Regions from separate parts of the Homo sapiens genome. Here region 2 is linked to region 1. The links are contacts of gene promoters, found by promoter capture Hi-C in blood cells and fetal thymus (Javierre and others, 2016). All regions are on one chromosome and are shown on one strand. The core of a region is centred on a gene start or on the middle of the fragment in contact, and the rest is flanking DNA. Distances in the headings are between cores, read along the strand shown.

The links. Contacts are between HindIII fragments. The CHiCAGO score rates a contact against its expected background, and 5 or more counts as called.
Region 2: a fragment that was not itself captured here is called in contact with the fragment with the promoter of RIPPLY1 in region 1 in 1 of 17 cell types (erythroblasts); the score reaches 5.0 in erythroblasts.

The regions. Positions count from the first base shown.
Region 1 is chrX:106,900,863-106,905,626 of GRCh38, forward strand. RIPPLY1 (ripply transcriptional repressor 1) reads right to left here and starts at 2,479. Exons shown (of 4, transcript NM_138382.3): 1 at 2,271-2,479; 2 at 1,278-1,353; 3 at 612-676; 4 at 1-46. The coding sequence starts at 2,425. It also overlaps a transcript of CLDN2 not described here. The HindIII fragment of the contact is 2,011 bases long and covers 1,434-3,444 here.
Region 2 is chrX:107,320,909-107,325,672 of GRCh38, forward strand. No RefSeq gene overlaps it. Among named protein-coding and RNA genes, the nearest start is that of DNAAF6, 120 kb to the left of the region's middle. The HindIII fragment of the contact is 243 bases long and covers 1,700-1,942 here.

The DNA.
Region 1 (4,764 bases), core at 1,229-3,728:
AGCACTGTACAGATAGTCGAAGGAGCGGGATTTAGGCCAGAAGAGCCTGTGGACAGAGAAGAAACATGGCCCCTAACAGGTGTCATATGTGCAGAGGGGCCAGTAGGGCCAAGAAAGAAGCTGGCCCCTAAACCCCTTCTCTTGGCTGCAACAATGAGGTCAGAGGGAAAGGAAGAAAGAAAGTTTTGTAACAGAACCTTCTGCATTGTTACAAAGTGGCCCCACGCAGGAAGGTAAACCCTTATGGACCTATAGTGGTTGGGTCGGGGGCCAGCCCCAGCATCTGTCACTTATGGCTCTGACTCCACCTGCTACCTACCCCAGAAAGCTTCTAGCCAAGAATTCTCCAGCCCTATGGCCCCATCTCCTTCCACTGAGGATTATTTCACTGACCCATCCATGGGGGATCATTCTTGGGCATCGTTAACAATGCCTCTAGAAAAGACAGCCTTGGCAAAGTCCCTTAACCTCTCTGGGCTCCAGTTTTCTCTCCTATGAAACAGCGATCATAGATAGCAATTCCTCCCCTCTCCTGCTTCACAAGACCTTTGTGAAGATTCAAAGAGCTAATGGATCTATGTCAAGTTTGGAGCTTCATGCCAGAAGCTTACCTGACAGGGTGATGGAACTTGGATTCAGCCTTGGTGACCTCAGCAGCCGTTGCCCCACCAGCAGCCTGTCCAAAGCAAAAGCTAGCATGTGGCTCAAAGTACATGGCTAGATAACTTCCTCCTCTGTACTAGAGGTCAGAAAGCTGCAGGTAAAATGATCTTGAAGAGACCTTAGACATCTCTGGGACCCAGCAACCCCCAATACCCACCCCTCAACAAGGGGTCTCTCTTGGTTCTGGTTGAAAAACAAGCAGACAGAGTCCTGCGGGTTGTTTGCTTCCCTGCCTCTGTTCCAGCACCTGTTTGGAGGCTCTCCAGGGGACAGTGTTCTACTGGAGCAGCAAAGATTCAGGGAGATCGGGTGGGTGGGAGAGCACTGGAGTAAGGTGCCAGGAGACGAGGCCTCAAGCACCAGCACTGCCACACACTGGCTGTGGGGCCTGCCCAGATCCCTTGCCCACTCTGAGCTTTGGTCTCCTCATCTTTCCAATTGCCACAGAAAGCTTGGATCTGCTCTCTGTTGGAATCAAATGTTGGCAAAACTGTGAGGATGCTATCTCAGATCTGCACCTTTGGACTGAGGTCAGGGGCTCTCTGGGAAGTGACCTGGTCACTGTTAATGCATGTGGCTGCATGTGAACACACGTCACAAGGGCTCGAACTCACCAAATCCACCAGCTTCCTCATCTGCCTTGGGGAGTCATTTGTGGAAGACAGCCAGGGCCTCCAGAGACAAGTTCCTCTGGGACAAAGAGGAGAGATCAATCCGTAGAGGAAGAGACTGAAAGGTGGGCTCCCTGAGATAACAAGAGACCTCCCAAAAGCTTGGCTCAGGTGCCATCTGCTCCAGGAAGCCTTTCCTAAGGCTCCTGAGCCCATTCCAGGACAGATGTCCCTCCTCTCGGCTTCAGCAATGTTATTATTGCTTTTATCATGCTGTTTTGTAATTGTCTATTTACTTGTCTTTGGGCTTCTTAAGCTCAAAGATATGCTCAATCGTATCTGAATCCTCAACACCTAGTACAATGTCTGGTACACAGTAGCTGTTTCAGTAAATGTTTGTTGAAGACTAAATGTTTGGAGTAATGAGTGGGGGCTAGATGGAAAATATCTTGCCTCCTACTTCCTGCTCCAAGATGTAGAACTCAGAGCTCTACCATCTTCCTGGGCTGAAGAAGAGGGCCAGAAATGTTCCTGGGTCCACTGCTTCCCCACTGGACTTGCAGAGGTAGGAAAAAAGCAAATGGAAATCTTATGGCGTGGTCAGGAAAAAGACAATGTCCCAGTCAAGGGCCTCTTTAGACTTTGGTCCTCTTTCCCCAAACTCCCCACCCCCACAGTCTAGATTGTGTTAAGCCCAGGTTTCATGGCAGTTCCCCATCCCCCTCAGGGGACTCAGCCACCTGGCCTATGAGGACCTGGCTGCTTCACCTTCAGCTTTGGCAACAGCTGTCCCCAAGTCCCCTCTTGCCACCCAGCGGGATTAGTGAGGTGAAAAGTCAGATGAGATATTCCAGCTAGAGTTGAGGAGGGAGGGCTATGAGGCCATTGCTTTTCCCCTTCACAGAGAACAGGGTGCCCTGGACATCTCATTTTCCTTCCTCTCTCAGGAAGCTCTCAAGCCTAAGTTCAGGTTGCCAAAGGCTAAGCTCAACTTACCTTTCACTCCCATTTACTTCTTGTCCAGAGGAGAGAAGGCAAGATGGGCTTAACAGGCCAGGGAGTGCCAGTGGGGCTTGTGCTAGGTCTGGAGCTAGGGCCAAAGCCAGGGCTGGAACAGGGGTGGCAGCAGCAGCACAGGCAGCAGAGTCCATTCTTAGGGGACCAAAGCCAGTGGGGTCTCCTACTTCCCAGAACCTTCTGCACTCTTTTGGCTTTTCCTGGGAGACCCTTTTATAAGCCCTGCCTGGTCTTATAAATTATTCAGGGAGGACAGGGGTGGGATGACTTGGGAGGGGGATAAAGATTTAGGGAAGGGGCTCAGGGAGGGAAAGCTGGGTTACCTGGGTGTGAAATCTCTCCCAGTTGAATAAACATGGTGTCAGTGGGAGGTGAGGGATTTGCTTTGCCTCCAAGTCAGAAAGAAAAACACAGAAGGGGCAAATCGCACACCATTTGTGTGAATTCCCCAGGGAGTAGCAAGGCCTGAGAGGGGAAGGAGAGGAGCTCATTAGCACTCTGAAACCACAGAGATGTCAGGGACAGAGGGCTGAATAGACAGGCCTTTAACTAAGCCAGTTCCTGGCAAGAAGAGACAGCTGACCCCTTTAAGGAGAGTGAGGGACTCACTTGTTATTTCAGCTCAACCTCAGATAGATTTGCCAGGTGGACCTGAATGTAGGGTGACTGCCATTAAGCATATCATCTGGGTTAGGGAAAAAAGGGGCATTCTGGGCAGAGCAGGCCCAGATGCTTGTTGGGTAAACCTTAAGTCTTCTTTCAATGCCCCTCAGCCCCTTACTGATCAGTTCATTTGTCAAAGTGCCCCCTCCAGCCTCAGCAGTAAGTGGTCCAGTGAAGGAGAGCAGGCAGGATTTCACAGGGCCTCTGGGTGAGATTCCAAACCTCAGAGCTTAGCTTCCAGTTCAGAAGCCAGGGTGCTGGGGAGAGGCAAAGTTCTGCCCGACTACAGAGCTGCCGAAGGACCAGCCCCAGCCCCAGGCCTCAGTTCCCTCATGTAAGAGATGAGGGTGCTGGCCCAGTGGTCTCATAGGACCATGCCAGCCTGAACACTCTCTGACAGGGGCTACATAAATGGGTACTGAACCCGGGCAAGCCCAGAGGCCTGAGCACAGTCCTCGGCCTTAGCCAGCCTTCTGGGCCTTTGCCAGAAAGCTTCTAGTTACAACTACTGGCAGGGACCTTATGCTTCAGAGGTCTCGAAAATATTCCTCCTGACCTCAGTGTCCAGCCCCAGCACAGATTTAGCTTCTTGGATGTTCATCACAGTCTGGTTTGTAATGGTCAAAAATTAGAAACAACTTCAATGTCCAATAATAGGAAACCAGTTACATTAATTAGGGCAAATCCTTGCAACTGAATGCCAAGCAGGTGCTCACAATCATGTTCTGGGAAGTATAATTTTTCAACACAGAAAATGGAAAAAAAAATCAGATGGTAAGATAGCATGACTAATTTAAGGGCTCCTCATTTCTCTGTTCACCTACCCCCCATCTTCACCCCACTTCCAATTCTAGTCCCACTATGTTCTTTTCAGCAAAGGAAAATTGAAAACAACTTTTAAAAGCTGGTTAGATAAATCATTGGGCAGTTACACAATTTCATATTAAAATTGGCATGGTAGAAGAATGAGGGAAAAGTTAACATATTGAAAGAGTGAAAACAAAATAAGTCTCTAAAATATTACTTAAAGGATGATCCCATTTTGGTAAGAAAAAAGATGTAGAATGGACAGCGTGCAGAGAAAAAATAAGACTGGTGAGAAGAAAGAGTGTTAGGGTTGTCATTTCTGGGAGTAACAGTGGGGTGGATTTTTACTTTATGTTTTTCTGAATTTTCTAAAAAGTTCCACAATGAACTGATATTATTTGAGTAATAAAAAGGAAAGGCACAAAAAATAAAAATAAACCAACAAAGAAATGTTTATCCATGGAGGAACGAAAGCTGGGGGAAATGACAGATATTTTCAAATATCTGAGGATTAGACTGCAATGAGATTACACTTGTTCTGGGTGACTTCAAAGGGCAGGGCTGAGGCCCATGGCTGGAAGCTACATGGAGACACATTTTGGCTCAATCAAAGGAAAACTTTCTAACAGCTCAGTCACCACCTAACCCAAGGGCCTGGCACGGTCCCGGCCCTCAATAAACAGAGGTTTATTATATGAGGTGAAATGAGTTCAGTGAAATGTGCTGCCTTGGACTTGAGAGAGCTCTCTGTCCCTGAATTTTCTAAGTGCAAGATAGATCCCAGGTCCTGAAGAGGGAAATCTTGTGGGGAAAGAGAGGGTTGCTGGGGAGCCAGAGCATCTATCAGTCTCTGAGAGTTCTTGCTAAATTTACCTTCATGAGCTAAGCGTTTCCTTGTACTGACTGCATCACTGGCTGAAAGGAGGAGTGTGGCTCAGAGAGGGAGCCAGGCTGAAAAGACTGGGCTGGAAGGAGATGGTGTGCAAAGGAGGAAGAAGCACAA
Region 2 (4,764 bases), core at 571-3,070, 420 kb after region 1:
AACACAATAATTGATTGCCTTCTAGCTACAAAATCAAAATGGCTTTTGATGTTCAGCCATTCATTGCTGTAACTGGAATAATAACACAATTCATTTTAGCTGCAGCCCCGCAAATGGATGGCTTTAATAATGGTTAATTTGGGATGATGAATGTGCCATTTGGGGGTGACATTACTGCTGAATAAGAAGAGCACACAAGAGACAGAGGGAGGAAAGGAGGAGCTACATAAGACTAGCCATGTTTGCTAACTTCTGAGGCTGCCAGGCCTTCAATTCCACTCCACAAGTATTGATTTAGCAAGTACTTACTTCCTAGCTAGCACTGGGCTGAGGGTTGGAGAGACTCTCAAGAAATATATGATTAGGATAGCCATGTGTCCTGGCTTCCCAGGGACAGTCCTGGTTTGTGATGAGACCTGGGGCAATTATTATTAATAGCACCTCTTCTCACTCTCAAAAGTGTCTTGGTTTGAATGGTAAGTTATATTGTCATTCTGCATGGCTCACGCTCTGCTTTCCATGAGAACACAGCTTTTCTGGGGGAAGACAAGTCTTATTTATGCACATAGAGCCATTATAGCATATTAGGAGACAGTATGTAACCAAAAAATGAACCAAAAAAGCTCAAGCACCCAAATCAATGCTCATAATTTAAAAATTGGTGATGGTCATGGATTTAAATATCTTGAAGATAACATTCACATGCATGTAAATGAATCACCACAATATACTACTCACTTGATCTTTACGATAACCTCATCTTATAAATGAGCCACTAGACACCAAGAGAAAGGAGTCAATTGCTCAAGGTCACAGAGCTAGTAAGTGACAGAGTCCATATTTGAATCCAGAACCATTTTAACTTAAAAGCCACCTATATTTCGCCTTTGGAACAGATATTAGTGCTGCCTGGAGTGATCAAAAAAGCTCATGGAGGAAGTGAACTACTTCCAAAGAATGAATCCACAAGTAAAAGTGAATAGAGTTTAAAAAAATGAAAGATGTAAGCTAGGAAAGAGACAGTGAAGAAATTAAGTGTGGTGGGGTTAATCAAGGACAATTTGCGAAGGAGGTGAGTTTTTGCACTACATTTAAAATTACTGATGAATATGATGAATATGGATTTACATAGATGAAAGAAGGGCTTTCACATGTGTAGAGATGACAAACTCTGAAGTCAGGGTGCTATTTACTGGGAATGGGCAAGTGGATGGGAATGAAGTAAACAGAAGATGACAATCACATTAGTAGGGTTTTATTTCTTAAACACAGTGGTAAATAGGTGCTCATCATACGAGTCTGTATACTTTGCTTGTATATCTTATTATTTCATGATAAAATATTTTTAAATGACAGAGATTGATCTTTCCAGGTGGGGGAAATGTATTAAGTAGGACATAGAAGCAAGGACAATAGATGTCTATTCTGGAGTCATTTTAACCAGAACCCTTATGTCTGGATTGAGCATTCATAGTCTCCCTTGTGGAGTGACCCACTGCCATTTCTTCCTCCCCAAGCACAGCACATGTTGAAAGCCTTGCTCAGCCCTCACTCTTGTTCGACTCAAAACTCTGCACCTCTGGAAATGCCCATTTACTGCCTTCTAAAAGATGTGCTTAGATGGCCTGTCTGTCTTCCTTGCTGTCAGGCGTGGTGTATCGGCGTGTTTACTACTTGTGGGATTTAGTGTTTAAACAAAAGCTTTGTACCCTCCCAAGAGATTGGCCTCCTGATTGGCAGGTGGGGTCAGAAGTACCCTCTTAGCCCTTCTCCAGTATAGTGAGAAGTGTTTGGAGCCAGACCTTAGTTGGAATCCAAGTCTGGCTCTCATAAGCTGTGTGACATTAGGCAGGTCACTTAAGCTCTCTGAGCCTATTTCCTCCTCTTCTGATGGTCGTTTCAAGAAGGAAATGAGATAATGTAGGGGAATCGCCTAGCAAAAAGCTTAGTAGAGCTTGATAAATGTGAGTTCTCTTCCCTCCTCCCTTTGTTGAAATGGCTGAACCTAAACATCAACCAATGATTAGTTTCAAAAATATTTTTGAAGAATAAATGTTGTATGTAATTTGGTAGCTTTTTTGCCAAACCTTCACTCAAGAAAAATCAAGTCATTCTGAATTCTTAAGCTGGCACCAGATGAATTCCCAGTCTCTGTTCAGACTGCTCCCTGGACTGCGACTGTCAGTGTCCAAGGCCTCTAGGACCTAGTCATAAAAACATGAGAACATAGACACCTTTTTATTCCCTTTGCCAAGAAGCATCAGCCAGCATCACCTGAGAACTTGCTGAAAATATACATTCTCAGCCACCATCAGCCCAGACCTGTGATCAGAAACTCTGGGAATGGGCCCGGTAATCTGCGTGTTACCCAGGGTGATTGTGATGCTTGCTCAAGTTTGAGAACCATCACTGCTCTAGGGCTCAGGGCTCCTCTTGGGCCATGTGCCCCAGGGTTCCCTCCACCACCCTCTCCCCACCCGAGAAGAGGGAGGCATGACAGTAGCAGCTAGAGAACTCTAGAAGAGGTTGAACTTTTGCCAGGAGGCCTGGAGGTGGCCCGTGCTCTTTGACAACTGTAGGAACCTCAGGAGCAGGTTGTGGAGCTCCGCCCAGAGCCCTGCCTATCAGAACTAGAACCTCCTCCAGGTCATGTGGCACAGTCCCTGCCTCTGCACAAGGCCTCGCAGGACCAGAGACCCCTGACCTTCACGCCTACTCTGCACAACCCCTAAAGCACTGGTTCTCCAAGTGTGGTCCCAGACCAACATCAGCCCCACCTGGAAAGATGTTGATGACAGCGGTGTGCTGTCCAGAGCGGCTGCTGCCATTACGCCACGGCTGTGGAGAGGGTGTGGGGAAGACGCAGGCAACCCGCCCCCGCCCACCCTCCCTACCTCCCCCGCAGCCTGCCGCCCTGGGGGCTGCCTCAGTGGAGCTGGGCCAGGTCACCCGTCAGCGACGGAGCTATGTGGTCTAGCAGAGAGGGGCCCCGAGGCGGAGCTGGGCCCAGGGTGGTGCTGCGCTTGCACATGGAGCACGAGAGGCAGGAGGGGTGCAGAGCTGGGACCGTACTTCGGGGCCCGGGGCTGGAAGTAGGAGCAGTGCCCGCTTTGGGGACCCAGCCAGTGGTGCAGCCACTGTGCCCACCTTGCCGAGGGTGCCAGGTTCCTGTGCCCTGGGAGGAGGCTCTGGGCGAGGCCACCTGGGACTGCCTCCCCAGGGTCCGCCCAGCATCCGAGTGACTGTCGAGCCTGACAGTCCCGACAGCCAGGGCCGAGGCCCAGGGCCTGTGGCCGCGATCTGCTCCCGGAGGCGCCCCGCCCCCCGCCACGCCCAGATAAAGCCACGAGCCAGGTGAGGGGGACCCCTGGGGCACACCTGAGCAACAGGGCTGTGGGGAAAGCTCGCGGCAACGTCGCCCCTGCCCTGGATGACACCCCGGGCCCAGCGAGGACCTGAAGCCCCTGCCTCAGGCTGCGAGGGGGCACAGCCGGTGTTGCACACTCCAAGGACCCGGCAGGAGCTAGGAGCAGGCAGCAGCCCCACCCAACCCCTCTGGGTGCAGCAGCAGGCGCCCAAGTCAGGGCTGTGGACCCAGACCTCTCTGCCCTCTTGAGGGCCTGGGAAGGCTGCCCCTCCACCCTTGCAGGCTTGGAAGTGCCTGCTCCTGCTGCCTGGCTTTTCCCCGCTGTTGGCACCCACTCCAATCTCCGAGCAATGTGGGGGCCAAGCCTTGGTGTTCTCGCAGCCTGGCCAGGGGTGCATGTACTGGGGCCAGCGCTGACATGCCAGCGCCCTGCTGCCTCAGACTTCTCCAGAATTTGGGTGCAGACGCGCACAGGAGGGGACGCCAAGGTGGGGGCTGAGAGCAGCTCCGCGCTGGCCTGCAGGAGCCCCTTGGCATAAGCAGGCTGGGCACCATGGACAGCGGCAGGAGGCCGACCGGCTTCTGGGCTGAAGGGGGCGGGTCCTCAGTGAGGCCCCATCTTCAGGACAGGGTGTGCCTGAAGGCTGGGGGCCGGGCTGCCAGGCCGGCAGACCAGAGTAGGGACTTGTGGTGCCTTCTCCGGGCCCGCCTATGGTCACCCATGGACCAATCGGTGTGCACTTCCTCCCCTCTGAGGCCCATGAAAGCCCTGGGATCAGCCAGAGCAGAGCAGAGGAAGGAGAGACGATGGGACAACCAGCTGCCGAGAAGAGCTACCCTCTCTGCTGGGAGCTGAACACTTGTGGGGACGACCTGCTTGCAGAGAGGAGCTACCCTCTCTGCTAGGAGCTAAATACTTGATGGGACACCCTGGCTGCGGAAAGGAGCTGCCCCCTGCAGGTCTTCTCTGAGCAGTTCTATTGCTCAATAAAGCACCTCTTCATTTTGCCCACCTTTCACTTGTCTGTGTACCTCATTCTTCCTGCAGGACAAAAACTCGGGACCTGCTGAATAGCGAGGCTAACACAAACAGGGCTGAGGCATGTCCCTTGCTCACTATGCTGCGGAAGAAGAGAAAGAAAGAAGAGCTACAGCCTTTCAGGGAGCCTAGACCTGGGAGCTCCCCAAACTAGGGCTGTGACTCCCTCTTTGGGGCCCTGTGGTTCCTGGCATCTCTAATCTTCCAGGTGCCAACATGTTCCCTGGTGCCAAGCATGGAAGCTGCTTGTAGTGCGCCTGGTCTGGTCACAGCCTTGCAGAGAGCTGGCACCCATGCTGGCACCTGGAGCTGCCCGCCCCACTGCAGCAGCTGGCGTGTCTGAATGCACAGTGGCTGG